2 separate regions of the Homo sapiens genome follow, and region 1 is linked to region 2. The links are contacts of gene promoters, found by promoter capture Hi-C in human tissues and cell types (Jung and others, 2019). All regions are on one chromosome and are shown on one strand. The core of a region is centred on a gene start or on the middle of the fragment in contact, and the rest is flanking DNA. Distances in the headings are between cores, read along the strand shown. Region 1 has its middle 16 kb from the start of ADAMTS14. Region 2 holds the start of PRF1 (perforin 1).

Evidence for each region. The method cuts DNA at HindIII sites, captures the fragments that hold promoters and counts their contacts. A contact is called where the count stands out against the background at its distance.
Region 1: a contact is called between a fragment that was not itself captured here and the fragment with the promoter of PRF1 in region 2, in 2 of the 25 tissues and cell types used here (H1 embryonic stem cells and mesenchymal stem cells).

Annotation. Positions count from the first base shown.
Region 1 is chr10:70,653,183-70,660,404 of GRCh38, forward strand. No RefSeq gene overlaps it. Among named protein-coding and RNA genes, the nearest start is that of ADAMTS14, 16 kb to the right of the region's middle. The HindIII fragment of the contact is 4,466 bases long and covers 654-5,119 here.
Region 2 is chr10:70,601,433-70,608,961 of GRCh38, forward strand. PRF1 (perforin 1) reads right to left here and starts at 1,309. Exons shown (of 3, transcript NM_001083116.3): 1 at 1,213-1,309. The HindIII fragment of the contact is 18,183 bases long and covers 1-7,529 here.

The sequences.
Region 1 (7,222 bases), core at 1,637-4,136, 53 kb after region 2:
TTTCAATGGCTCTCTGTAGCCCTCCACCCAAGGCCTCTGCTCTGCTCCACTGGCCTGAGGTAGCCATCTGCTGACTGAGTCAGGGGCCCTGGGAGAATTCCTGACCTGGTTCCCACCCCACAAGCTCCCAGCTTCCCAGTGCTGACTTGGCTAATTGATCTGGAGTCCTTGCCAAAAATCATATCCTGCAGGCCTGTGGAGCCTTAAACGTGGAGCGGCTGTACAGCCCCGCTGGGCTCAGCTGCTCGGAGTTATAAAAAGAACCGCAGTGCATGTGGTGGGCCGGTGACTAACGTGGCCACTTGGGGAGTCGTCATCAGCTGTTGGGTGAGGTGATGTGTATCAGGCCGCACTCAGTTCCCAAGGTTCAACCCTGGAGGCTGATCTCCTTTCTCACCTCCTTAGTCCAGGCTGCAGGAGAGATTTCTGCCTTGAGCGCAGAACTTAATCAGTGGCTCACTGTCTATCCTGAGTTATGGCTGTGGTACAGCCCAGCTCTAGGCACTGTGGCAGGCCCTGCACTATGAGGAACTGTCATGAGGTGAATGATTTGGCGAGAAATGATATGCTGAGAGTTTGCAGACACTAAAGGAGTGTGAGGAATGGGGAGTGGATTTTGGAGTCTGAAGAGCTACCTCCACATCCCAACTCTGCCACTTACTAGCTGTGTGGCTTTGGGCTGGTTATTTAACTTCTCTGGACCTCAGTTTGCCTTGTCTGTGAAATGAAAACAATACCTACCCCATGAGGGTTACATGAAAAAAACACAGTAGAATCCATTTTAATCTGACCTTGAGTCCTAAGAGAAGGAAGGAGGAAAAGTTATCCCTGGCTGGGTGACACTTGGCATATCCAGCTGTCCCGGGTGGAGCTCTTAGCAGAAGCCCCCGTTTTTTTTTTTGAGATGGAGTCTTGCCCTATCACCCAGGCTGGAGTGCAGTGGCATGATCTCAGCTCACTGCAACTCTCGCCTTTTGGGTCCAAGCGATTCGCATGCCTCAGCCTCTCAAGCAACTGGGATTACAGGCATTCACCACCACACCCAGCTAATTTTTGTATTTCTAGTAGAGACGGGGTTCCGCCATGTTGTCCAGGCTGCTCTCAAACTCCTGACCTTAAGTGATCTGCCCACCTCGGTCTCCCAAAGTGCTGGGATTATAGGTGTGAGCCACCATGCCCGGACAAGCACAGCCTTTTAACAGCAGCCTGCAAGACCCACACTTTACTCCACGAACATATCAATATTACTGTTGTTGTGTTGGTAGGAGATGTTGTCTCCCTGGGAACCTTTTTACTTAAGCCTGGACCATAAACCATGGTAGTAATGGTTCTCTTGCTTGTGGTGGCACATCCATACAGGTGTGCAGCAACCTCAGTTCTTGCCTCCTCAGAAGAAAGAATTTGACTGAGGGGCATAAGTCAGAAGGAGAGACCAAGGCAAGTTTTGAAGCAGGAGTGAAAGTTTATTAAAAAGCTTTAGAGGCTGGGCGTGGTGGCTCATGCCTGTAATCCCAGCACTTTGGGAGGCCGAGGCAGGCGGATCACTTGAGGTCAGGAGTTCGAGACCAGCCTGGCCAACATGGTGAAACCCCATCTCTACTAAAAATACAAAAATTAGCTGGGCGTGGTGGCGGGCGCCTGTAATCCCAGCTACTCAGGAGGCTGAGGCAGGAGAATCACTTGAAACTCTGCAGTGGGGTGAGATCGTGCCTCTGCACTCCAGCCTGGGCTTCAGAGCGAGACTCTTTCTAACAACAACAACAACAACAACAACAACAACAACAACAACAAAACCCCCAAAGCTTTAGAGCAGGAATGAAAGCAAGGAAAATACACTTCGAAGAGGCCCAAGCAGGTAACTTGAAGAACAAGTGCAGGACTTGACCTTTTGACTTGGGGTTTTATACGTTGGCATGCTTCTGGGGTCTTGCGTCCCTTCTCACTTGATTCTTTTTTTTTTTTTTTTTTTAGATAGAGTTTTGCTCTTGTTGCCCAGGCTGGAGTGCAATGGTGCAATCTCAGCTCACCACAACCTCCACCTCCCAGGTTCAAGTGATTCTCCTGCCTCAGCCTCCTGAGTAGCTGAGATTACAGGCGTGCTCCATGCCTGGCTAATTTTGTATTTTTAGTAGAGATAGAGTTTCTCCATGTTGGTCAGGCTGGTCTTGAACTCCCGACCTCAGGTGATTTGCCCACTTCGGCCTCCCAAAGTACTAGGATTACAGGCATGAGCCACCATGCCCGGCCTTCTCGCTTGATTCTTCCCTTGGGGTGAGCTGCCCGCGTGCACGGTGGCCTGCTAGCCCTTTGGGGGGTAGCATGTGCAGTGTGTTTACTGGAGTTGTACACATGCTCACCCGAGGAGTTCTTCCCTTTTACTGGTGGAATGCTCCTGGAAGGTCAACTCCGCCATTTCGTGTCTTAATGCACGTGCTTGAGCCCACTCGCCCAGCTCCTGAGATCTTATAGGAAACTGATGATCACCAGTTTTAGGTGTTTTCTATCTACAGGCAGAATGCCTTTTCCTGGTGCTGGTTGAGACCTATTACTATTTTAGAGAGGCAGTGTGACAACTGCCTAACCATCACCTAATGATCGCCTGATTTTCCTGGTGGGGTGTAGGGGCCCTCTTCTGCCCTGTTCATGTCTCACTAGCTACCCACCGTAACACTCCTGAGCACACTATTGGAGCTGGTGGGGTTTTCTTTGCAAATGCCACCATGTCACCCATAGCTTGGCCTGCAGGTCCCTGCACTAGTGCCAATGTAGATATTTTCTTTCCAAATCTAATCCCTAATTTACACACCCTTTGTGATGATGAGTTCAAATTCTTAGAGAAATTATTTAGCCCCCTGGAGAGACTGCTCTCCCAGTGTGGAGGGCTGGGGCTGGGGTCATATGTCAACATTGTTCAATGTGACACATATTTACTGAGCACCTACTCAGTGCCTATCCCTGGTGAGACAAAAGATGAGTGAGGAATGGCACCTGCCCTTGAGAAACATATAAGAAATGCTTCAGCAAGAAGCGTGTGTCTTTCTCTTGACCATAATGGCAATCTCCTAACACTGGAATAGGGTTAAGAAATCATAAAGAGTTCATGCATGTGTTCGTTGATTCATGAAGGCTTTATAGGGCCTCTACTTTGTCCCAGGCTCTATGCTAGACAGTAGGTAAAGCTGAATTGAAGGTTTTATTTTGCAGTTATTAAGCCTGTGAATAATTTCAGCACAGGAAGCCTACTGTGCCTTTCAGCACAGTTGACTTATGTCCAAGGTACAGATGTGGAACAGAAGAGAGAGTACTGAATGATGTTCTGGTGGGAGAGCAGGATGGTTCTGTGTCTGGGAGTGCTTCACGGAGGAAGTGGCTACTGAAAAAGGATTCAAAGGAAGACTCAGCTTGCCAGGCGGATGCATGGGGAAAAGGCATCCTAGGCTGAGGAAACAGCCTGTGCAAAGGCCTGGGGGCTGAGTCATGGACCAGCAGGGCTCAGAGGCTTTGCAGAAGTGATCTCATCCACCCACTCATAGTTCAGATGAGGCTGGGATGCAGAGAGCGGAAGGCACTGCCTAGAGCTACTCAGCCAGTTAACCACAGAGTTTTGATGGGAACCTGGCCTCCTACCTCCCAGCCACAGCTGGTATTTTCTTCTGCTGGGGAAATGCTACACATCATACACAATACCATCTTTACCACTTGATGGATCACAAGCAGGTATACATTTAAGTCATCTGAATTTAGTTCAAAGTTTGCAAATGGAGAGCAGAATTAGAGGGGCTGGCTGTGCTTTCCATGGGTCCAGATATATAGTGGGTGCTCAGTAAGGGTCTGTGCCCTCCTCCATGGCCAGATGTGGTCGGGGGGTGGGGGCGGGAAGTAAAGGCAACTCCCTGTTCTAAAGGAACACATGGATGACAACTTCCAACTTAGGATGACTTGAAGCTGGGCTTGTGAAGGCTCTGAGCAGCTGGGCTTGGAAGGCAATAATTTCTCAGGCAGAGCATGAGTACCTCTGTGTCTCCCAGTTTGAAAGGGAGCAAGTCATCCTGAAAATAAGCAAATGTCACTTCACCTCCGACCTGGCTGCCCTTTCAGTGGGTGCAGCGAATAAGGCCTTCTCGGTCATTCCGGGCTTTCAGTTTATGGGACTAAGAAAAAGGCAGAAATGCCAATAGTATACAATCATATCTATTTTATTATGCTTTGCTTTATTATGCTTGGCAGATACTCCATTTTTAAAAAACAAAGTAAAGGTTTGTGGCAATCCTGCTTTGAGCAAGTCTATTGGTGCCATTTTTCCAACAGCATGTGCTCACTTCATGTCTCTGTGTCACATTTTGGTAATTCTGGCAATATTTCAGACTTTTTCATTATTATTATATCTGTTATGGTAATCTGTAATTATTGATCTTTGATGTTACTATTGTAATTATTTTGGGGTGCCACAAACCGTGCCCCTAAGACAGCAAATTTAATCAATAAATGTTGTGTGTGTTCTGACTGCTCCACCAACTGGCCATTCCTTCATCTCTCCCTCTCTTTTGGCCTCCCTATTCTCCAAGACACAACAATATTGGAATTAGGCCAAGTAATAACCCTACAATGCTGCCTTAAGCGTTCAAGTGAAAGGAAGGGTGGCATATCTTGCTTCAAATAAGAAGCTGGACATGATGAAGCTTAGTGAGGAAGGCATATGGAAAGCAGAAAAAGGCTGAAAATGAGGCCTCTTGTACCAAACAGTTACAAATGCAAAGGAAAAGTTCTTGAAGGAAATTAAAAGTGCTACTTCAGTGAACACAGGAATGATAAGAAAGTGAAGCAGCTTTATTGCTGATATGGAGAAAGTTTGAGTAGTCTGAATAGAAGATCAAACTAACCATAACATTCCCTTAAGGCAAAGCCTAATCCAGAGCATGACCCTAACTCTCTCCAGTTCTATAAAGGCAGAGAGAGGTGAGGAAGCTACAGAAAAGAAGTTGGGGCTGGGTATGGTGGCTCACACCTGTAATCCTAGAACTTTGGGAGGCCGAGGCAGGTGGATCACTTAAGTCCAGGAGTTTTGAGATCAGCCTGGGCAACATGGAGAAAACCTGTTGCTACAAAAAAAAAAAAAAAAAAAATTAACTGGGTGTGGTGGTGCATGCCTGTGGTCTCTGTTACTTGGGAGGCTGAGGTGGGAGAATCTCTTGAGACCGGGAGGTGGAGGTTGCAGTGAGCCATGATTACACCACTCCACTCCAACCTGAGTGACAGAGTGAGACCCTGACACACACACACACACACAAGAAAAAGAAAAAGAAAAAAAAGTTGGAAGCTAGCAGAGGTCAGTTTCTGAGGTTTAAGGAAATAAGCTATCTCTTTGATGTAAAAGTATAAGCAGCAAGTGCTGATGTAGAAGCTGCAGCAAGTTATCCAGAAGATCTAGCTAAGACCATCAATGAAGGTGGCTACACTGAACAACAGATTTTCACTGGAGACAAAGCAGCCTTATATGGGAAAAAGATGCCATCTAGGACTTCCATAGCTAGAGAGGAGAAGTCAATGCCTGGCCTCAAAGCTTGAAAGGACAGGCTGGCTCTCTTGTTAGGGGCTAATGTAGCTGGTGACTTTAAGTTTAAGCCAATGCTCAATGGCCATTCTGAAAATCCTAGGGCCCTTAAGAATTATGATAAATCCACTCTGTCTGTGCTCTAGAAGTGGAACAACAAAGCTTGGATGACAGCATATCTGTTTAGAGCATAGTTTACTGAATGTTTTAAGCCCACTGTTGAGACCTACTGCTGAGAAAAAAAGATTCATTTGAAAATACTACTGTTCACTAACAATGCACCTGGTTACCAAGAGTTGTGATGGAGATGTACAAGGAGATGAATGTTGTTTTCATACCTATTAACACATCATCTGTTCTGCACCCACGGATCAAGTAATTTTGACTTTCAAGTCTTATTACTTAAGAAATACATTTCATAAAGTGATAGCTGCCATAGATAGTGATCCGTCTGACTGACCTGGACAAAGTAAGTTGAAAACCTTCTGGGAAGGATTCACCATTAGAGATGTCATTAAGAACATTCATGACTCATGGAAGGAGATAAAAATGTCAACATTAACAGGATTTTTTTTGGCTGCCCAGTGCATATAAAAGTTATATTTATGCTATTACATGTACAATAGCATTATGTCTAAAAAACAATGTATGGACCTTAATTTAAAAATACTTTACTGCTAAAAAATGCTAATGATCATCTGAGCCTTCAGCAAGTCATAATCTTGCTCAAGTCTGGAAGTCTGGAGTTTGTAAGAAGTTGATTGCAACCCTCATGAATGACTCTGAGGGATTCAACATTTCAGTGGAGGAAGTAACTGCAGATGTGGTAGAAATAAGCAAGAGAACTAGAATTGGAAGAAGAGCCTGAAGATGGGACCGAATTGCTGCCATCTCATGATCAAACTTGAATGGTTGAGGGGTTGCTTCTTTATGGATGAGCAAAGAAAGTGGTTTCTTAAGATGAAACCTACTCCTGGTGAAGATGCTGTGAATATTGTTGAAATTACAACAAAGGATTTAGAATATTCCATAAACTTAGTTGATAAAGCAGTGGCAGGGTTTAAGAGGATTGATTCCAATCCTAAAATAAGTTCTACTATGGGTAAAATGCTATCAAACAGCATTGTGTGCTACAGAGATGTCTTTTGTGAAAGGAAGAGTTAATCGATATGGCCAATTTCATGGTTGTTTTATTTCAAGAAATTGCCACAGCCACCCCAGCCTTCAGCAACCACCACCCTGATCAGTCAGCAGCCATCAACATGGAGGCAAGACCCTCCACAGCAAAAAGATTATGACTTGCTGAAGGCTCAGATGATTGTTAGCATTTTTTAGCAATAAAGTATTTTTAAATTAAGGCATGTACATTGTTTTTTAGATATAATGCTATTGTACACATAATAGCATAAATATACCTTTTATGTGCACTGGGCAGCCAAAAAAATTGTGTGACTCACTTTATTGCAATATTTGCTTTATTGTGGTGGTCCAGAACCAAACCCGCAACATCCCCAAGGCATGCCTGTATGCCTTCACTGCCCTCGGGGTTTTTTTTTTGTCTTTTTTTTTTTTTTTTTTTTGAGACAGAGTCTTGCTCTATCTCCCAGGCTGGGGTGCAGTGGCATGATCTTGGCTCACTGCAACCTACACCTCCCGGGTTCAAGTGATTCT
Region 2 (7,529 bases), core at 59-2,558:
AAGAGAAATGAGGTCCTATATTGCACCTATTCTTCTCATTTTCCCTTTGGGGCTCTCCCTCTGAGCTTTATGGAATAACATCAGCCCGAATTCTAGAATAAAATCTGCCGACCTGGCCAGGTGTGGTGGCTCACACCTGTAAACCGAACACTGTGGGAGGCAGAGGCAGGTGGATCACTGGAGGTCAGAAGTTCGAGACCAGCCTGGCCAACGTGGTGAAACCCCCTCTTTACTAAAAATACAAAAATTAGCTGGGCATGGTGGCGGGTGCCTGTAATCCCAGCTACTTGGGAGGCTGAGACAGGAGAATCGCTTGAACCCAGGAGGCGGAGGTTGCAGTGAGCCAAGATCGTACCACTGCACTCCCGCCTGGGTGATAGAGTAAGACTCTGCCTCAAAAAAAAAAAAAAAAAGGGGCAGACCTGACCACACCCTTGGATTTTGTGTGGGGAGAGGCCTCGATGGTTGCTCTTCAGATCCTTTCTTGCTGCCCCTCCCCTCTTTGCCACTCCCTGCCAAGCTCTGTGGCCTTCGGCAGTGACAGGGGCCCCCCTATTGCCTACTATGGACAATGATTGTCTGGAAGGTTCTTCCTAATTTTAAGGTGTTTCTGGGGCCTTGCCTGGGCCTGTTTATGATCTGGAACCTCCTTTCTCTAACCTTACCCAAGCCTAACCTTATCCAAGCTGAGCTCTTCAAAGGCCTTTGCCCTTGGGTACCACAGGTTCTGAGACAAGAGGGCTATGGAGAGCCCCCATTATAGCTGGAGCCTCCTGCCCTGCCCAAAGGTGTGACTTGAAGGGTGGAATTTCAGGCAGCGTGGCTCGCCCCAGGGAGGCAAAGAGGCCAGGGGAATCTTCAAAGGCCCTGGGCTCATCCCAGCTAGGAGGCGGGCACAGTCATAACCCTAATCCAGTGAACTCAGCCCTCATCCTGACTCTCATGGTATTCTGTCCCAGGGAGCCTCTTTCCAGCTTTCTTAGAAGCTTTAATGTCAGCACTTGCAGGGCCTTAGAAACTGCACGCTACCTCTTCATTTCATACATGAGGAAACTGAGGCCCAGGGTGGACACAGGGCTGCCCAGCGAGTTAGTGATGGGCACCGTCTGTGACCCAGGTGTCTTGTCTTATAGGTCACAGCACTTCCTGCTCCATCAGCCTCTTCCCCTCCACCCAGGGCCCCAGGCCCCCCAATCCCTGCTCTCTCCTTACCTGGAATCCCGTATAGAGAAGCGGCTACACAGATGGATATCCTCTCTTCACCGAGGCTCCTGGAATGGTGGCATCAGCCCCCCAGGCAGCCCACTGTGGCTCCTTGCACCAGCCACCACTCACATCACTTCTACTTCCTGCCCCGCCCCCAGCTGTGGTCACAGGTCCTTTGTGCTCTCCCCTCCCACAAGCACCCACCCTGTCCTCAGCCCTCATCCGGCTCCCCACTGACAGCCCTCAGGAAGCGAGCAGCAGGGCCAGAGGCTCATCTGCCGAGTAGAGCTGCTGGGGCTCGGGGACTCAGGGCACACAGGCGGAGGAGGGCGGGGCGCTGAGGACTTTGAGACTCGGCCCTGGTGTTGATGAACAGGCCAGCAGGGCCATCTCCTTGCTTCTGATGCACAGCATCGCATGTGTGGGATGTAAGAGGCAAGCAGAGGCGGCGGCTCAGAGCATGGGCCTACACGCCAGACCGCCGGGGCTTGGGCAGCTCGGTTATGCACCAGCAGTGTGGACTGGTAGGGTTCTTCAGCCTCACTGTGCCTCAGTTTCTTCACTGAACAATTGGGATTGTAGGTCATGTAGACCCTAGGGGTTGTTGTGAAGTGCTTGGAACTGTGCCTGGCCCTTCTTGAGTGTCAGAGCCTGTGGCCATTCCCTCCTCCCTGAGTGGGAGAAGAGAGATGTTGCTCTAATCTTGCCATCCACTTCCTGCTCAACCTACATCCCACCCTAGCCCAGGCTCCGAACTCCAAGCATGTTCCTCGAACAGGGGCTCCTGCTCCTCGCTTTGTGAGGACAGCCAGTGGCCTCCACGCTGGCTCCAGCCCTGCTGAGGTCGTGGGTGCTGGTGAGAGTGGTCTGGTAGCACCGGAGGACATGTCTTCTGCACTCTGCCTTGCTTGAGGTCAGGGTGGGGTGAGGTTTCCATGGGTGGAGTGACTCACAGGGCACTGGGGGGCAAAATCACACGGCTTCTGGGGTGGGGGCAGCTGGGTAAGGGAGGAGGTGGTTCTCACAACTTGTTCTCATAACTGTGTATATGATGGGAAGAAGTGGCCGCAGGCTCCAGACCACATGTGACATCATGTCTCATGGGTCACACTTTGGGGCTCATCCCTTGCGTTTATGTCCCTGCTTCCGTCCCTGCTCTTACAGGAACAGGGGCTTATGCTGTCTTCTCGGAATCTGGCCCCATCTTCTCTCCGCAGTGTCCCCACCCTCTTCTAGAAACTGCAGCCTCCTGATCACTTTCCAGCTGTCACCCATGGCCTGACTTGGATGCTGAGGCTGTGAGGAGTTTCTTTCCTGACCATGACAGGAAGGCCGGTTTGAGGGACATAGAAGTCCTGCAAAGTATCTGCGGGAAAAGAGAGGCAAAGTCTAAACAGGTTCTGATCCCAGCTTCACCAGAAACTTACCGTATGCCTCACGGCGATAGATATCAACCCCCTTTCTGAGCGTTAGTTTCCTCACCTATAAAATCAAAGAGAGGACTTTGGAATTCTACACATCCTTCCAGCTAATGATAAAATGTACACTTGGCAGGTTTCAAGTGGCTTATGAAGTGGCTAATGCCCAAGAGATGCTAGTGGTTGTTAGGGGATCCATTAAAGAGCCGAAATGACATTGAGGGTGATGACTGTTTTTGACTCGTTTAACTGATGACAGCTGTCCTTCTGAAACTTGACACTTGAATGTGCATTAAGCAGAGTTTTTCCTCAGAGACACAAGTTTCAACAAGTGCGTAATTTGTTCAATCACCAGACACCATGTATATGGTTTTCTTTAGTAACAACAATCTTTAGATGTAATTCACATACCATATAATTCACCCATTTCAAGTATATGATTCAATGGCTTTAGTATGTTCACAGAGTTGTACAGCCACCGCTACAGTCAATTTTAGAACATCTTCATCACTTTCCAGAAATAAAACCTATACCCACTGGTGGTCATTTCTCATTTCTTTTTCTTTTTCTTTTTCTTTTTTTTTTTTTTTTTGAGATGAAGTCTTGATTTGTCACCCAGACTGGAGTGCAGTGGCATGATCTCGGCTTACTGCAACCTCTGCCTCCCAGGTTCAAGCGATTCTCCCACCTCAGCCTCCCCAGTAGCTGGGACTACAGGCATGCGCTACCACGCCTGGCTAATTTTTTTTTTTTTTTTTTGTATTTTTAGTAGAGACGGGGTTTCACCATGATGGCCAGGCTGGTCTTGAACTCCTGATCTGCAAGTGATCAGCCCACCTTGGCCTCCCAAAGTGCTGGGATTACAGGCGTGAGCCACCGTGCCTGGCCATTTCTCATTTCTTCATAACGCTAATCTACTTTATCTCTCTGTTAATTTTCCCATTTTCGACAATTCATATAAAAAGAATCATAGCATATGTGGCCTTTTGTGTCTGGCTTGTTTCATTTAACATAATACTTTCAAGGTTCATCCATGTTGTAGCATGTATCAGTACTTTAGTCCATTTCATGGCTGAATAATATTATATTATATGGACATATCACAATTTGTTTACCCATTCATAACTGATGGATTTATTGGTTGTTTCTACTTTTTAGCTGTTATGAATAATGCTGTTATGAACATTTGTGTACAGGTTACTGTGTGGACATATGTTTCCATTTCTCCTGAGTATATATCTAGGAGTGGACTTGCTGGGACATGTGGTAACTATAGGTTTAACTTTTTGAGGAAGTGTTTTCCAACGTGATTGCATTGTTTTGCATTTCTCCAGCAGCTTATGAGAGTTCTAATTCCTCCTTTCCAAATCAAACCAAGGTTCCACTAGTTCCTTGCCAAACCTTGATTATAGCCATCCTGGTGGGTGTGAAGTCGTACCTCATTGTGGTTTTGACTTGGATCTCCCCAGTGGCTAATGAAGTTGAACATCTTTCCATATGCTTATTGGCCATTTGTACACCTTCTTTGGAGAAATGTCTATTCAAGTCCTTTGCCCCTATTTTGAACTGAGTTGTCTTTTTATTGTTGAATTGTAATAGCTCTTTCTACGTTTTGACTTCTAGACCCTTGTCAGATATAGAATTTGCAAATATTTTTTCCTATTTTGGCAGTTGTCTTTCTTTTCACTTTCTTGAGGGTGCCCTTGAAGTATAAAAATATTTTACTTTTGGCCAGGCATGGTGGCTCACATCTGTAATGCCAGCACTTTGGGAGGCCAAGGTAGGAGGATCGCTTAAGTCCAGGAATTCAAGACCAACCTAGGCAATGTGGCAAAACCCTGTCTGTACAAAAAATACAAAAATTAGCCAGGCATGGTGATGTGTGCCTGCTTTTTGGGATAGTTCCAAATAGTTCCAGCTATTTGGGAGGCTGAGGTGCGAGGATTGCTTGAGCCCAGGAGTTCGAGACCAGCCTGGGCAACATGGCAAGACCCTGTCTCTGGAAAAAAAAAAAAAAATTAGCTGAGAGTGGTGGCACACACACACCCCTGTAGTCCAAGCTACTCAGAAGGCTTAGGTGGGAGGATTTCTTGAGCCTGAGGGGTCGAGGCTGCAATGAGCCAAGATCGCACCGCTTTACTCTGGCCTGGGTGACAGATCGAGACACTGTCTCAAAAAAAAAAAAAAGATTTTACAGGCCGGGAGGGGTGGCTCATGCCTGTAATCCCAGCGCTTTGGGAGGCCGAGGCAGGCGGATCACGAAGTCAGGAGATCGAGACCATCCTGGCTAACACAGTGAAACCCCGTCTCTACTAAAAAAATACAAAAAATTAGCCGGGCGTGGTGGCGGGCGCCTGTAGTCCCAGCTACTCAGGAGGCTGAGGCAGGAGAATGGCATGAACCCAGGAGGCGGAGCTTACAGTGAGCCGAGATCATGCCACTGCACTCCAGCCTGGGTGACAGAGCAAGACTCTGTCTCAAAAAAAAAAAAATTTTTTTACTTTTGTTGAAGTTCAATTTACCTATTTTTTTCTTTTGTTGCTTATATTTTTAATGCCATATCTAAGAAGGTTCTGCCTAATCCAAGATCATGAAGATTTATTCCTATGTTTTCTTCTAAGAGTTTTATAGTTTTAGCTCTTATATTTAGGTCTATTATCCATTTGGAGTTAATTTTTGTGTATGGAAAGGGGTCCAACTTCATTCTTTTGCATGTGGATATCGTATATGGTTTTGATTTTTTTAGGTTATAAAATACCTGCTTTAGATAGAACAGTGCCATAAATCTTGCTATCTTGGAATGTTCATGTCCCTCCAAGATTCATGTTGAAACTTAATCCTCAATGCAATAGTATTAAGGAGTGGGGCCTTTAGGAGGTAATTAGGTCATGAGGGTTCTGCCTTCATGAATGGGATTAGTGCCCTTATAAAAGGGCTTGAGGGAGTCTGTTTGTACCTTCTTGCTCTTCTGCCCTTCCACCATATGAGGTCACAGCAACAGGCACCGTCTGTGGAGCAGAGAGCAAACTTTCACCAGATACCACGTCTGCTGGTACTTTGATCTTGAACTTTCCAGCCTCCATAACTGTGAGAAATACATTTCTATTATTTATAAATTATCCAGTCTAACATATTTTGCTATGGCAGCAGGAGTAGACTAAGCAAGAAATTGTGCTGGGAGTGGGGTGCTGCTGTAACAAATACCTAAAAATGTGGAAGGAGCTTTGCAGCTGAGTAATGGGTAGAGGCTGGAAGAGTTTGAGGTTCATGCTGAAAAAAACTTGTATTTCTGTGAACGGACTATAAAGGGTTTTTCTAGTGAGGGTTCAGAAGACGAGGAGAACTGTAGAGAGAGCTTCAATCATTTTAGAGATTATTTAAGTGGTTGCAAGTGGAACATTGGTAGAAATATAAACGGTAAAGGCTACTTTGATGAGGTCTTAGATGGAAATAAGAAACATCTTCTTGTTAAGTGGAAGAAAGGTGATCCTTGTTATAAAGTGGCAAAGAATTTGGCTGCATTGTGTTTGTGTTCTAGTGTTTTGTGGAAGGCAAAACTTATGAGCAACGAAAGAGTATATTTGGTAGAAGAAATCTCTAAGCAAAGTGTTGAGGATGCAGCATGGCTTTTCTTGATTGCTTACAGTAAAATACAAGATGAGAGAAATGAATTAAGGGTGAAACATATAGTTAAAAGGGAAGTAGAACTTAAAAGAGTTGGAAAGTTCTCAGCGTGGCCAGGTTGTAAAGAATGAGAAAGTGTTTGAGAGAGAATACCAATGGTGTGGCCAAGTGAATGTTTGATAGGGAGATTTATATGGCTAGAAGAATGCCAGGTGATATTCATCAAGACGATGGGAAAATGGCCCCCAAGGCATTTTGGAGATCCTCAAGGCTGCCACTACTATTACAGGCCCAGAGTGCCAGGGTTTTGTGGTCCGAATGGTTTCAAGGGAGGGACCCAGGATGCCTTTGGGGCTTTGTGGTTTGCTGCCCAGGGCTGCATCAAATTTCTACTCCATGCATTCTGGCACAGAGCTCGTTGGTCACCTCAAGTGTGGCTAGTGGGCCTAGGTGCAGTGTGGTCTACAGTGGTTGTCCCTTTGGTTGCCCCATGGATACCATGCTCCATGGCTGGAGCGCCGTGCTTCATGCCCACAAGTGTAAAATTGGATACATTGGAGCATGGTATCCATGCAGTGTTAAACTGCAGTGGGGGCATGGCTATGACCACCTGGATTTCAAAGGATGTCCTACAGAGGCTTGGGGCCCAGACAGAGAACTATCATAGATGTGAGACCACTTCAGAGAGCCCCCACTAGGGAAATGTCTAATGGACCTGTGGGGTTGGGGCCACCTCAGAAATCCCCCACTAGGGCTCCCAGTGGAGCCATGGGGGCAGAGTGACCCTGGAGATGCCAGACCAGGAGAGCCACCAGCATGCAACTCCAATCTGGGAGATTCTCAGGGACTGGACTCCAATACATGAGGGCCACTGCGTGGGTGGTGCCAAGCGAAGCTGTGGGGACAGTGCTGCCTGGAAGCATGACTTCCACCCCAGTGTGTGCAGAAGGTGGGGCACAGAGTCAAAGATTATTTTCAAGTCTTAAGATTTACTGTTGTTTGCTCTGTTGGGTTTTGGACTTGGTCAAGGCCTGTCACCCCTTTCTTCTTTCCTATTGCTCCCTTTTGGAATGGGAATGTCTATCTATGCCCATCCCACCATTGTATTTTTTTTTTTTTTTTTATTTTTTGTGAGACAGAGTTTCCCTCTTGTCACCCAGGCTGAAGTACAAAGGCACCATCTTGGCTCATTGCAACTTCTACCTCCCAGGTTCAAGCAATTCTCCTGCCTCAGTCTCCCAAGTAGCTGGAATTACAGGCGCCCGCCACAATGCCCAGCTA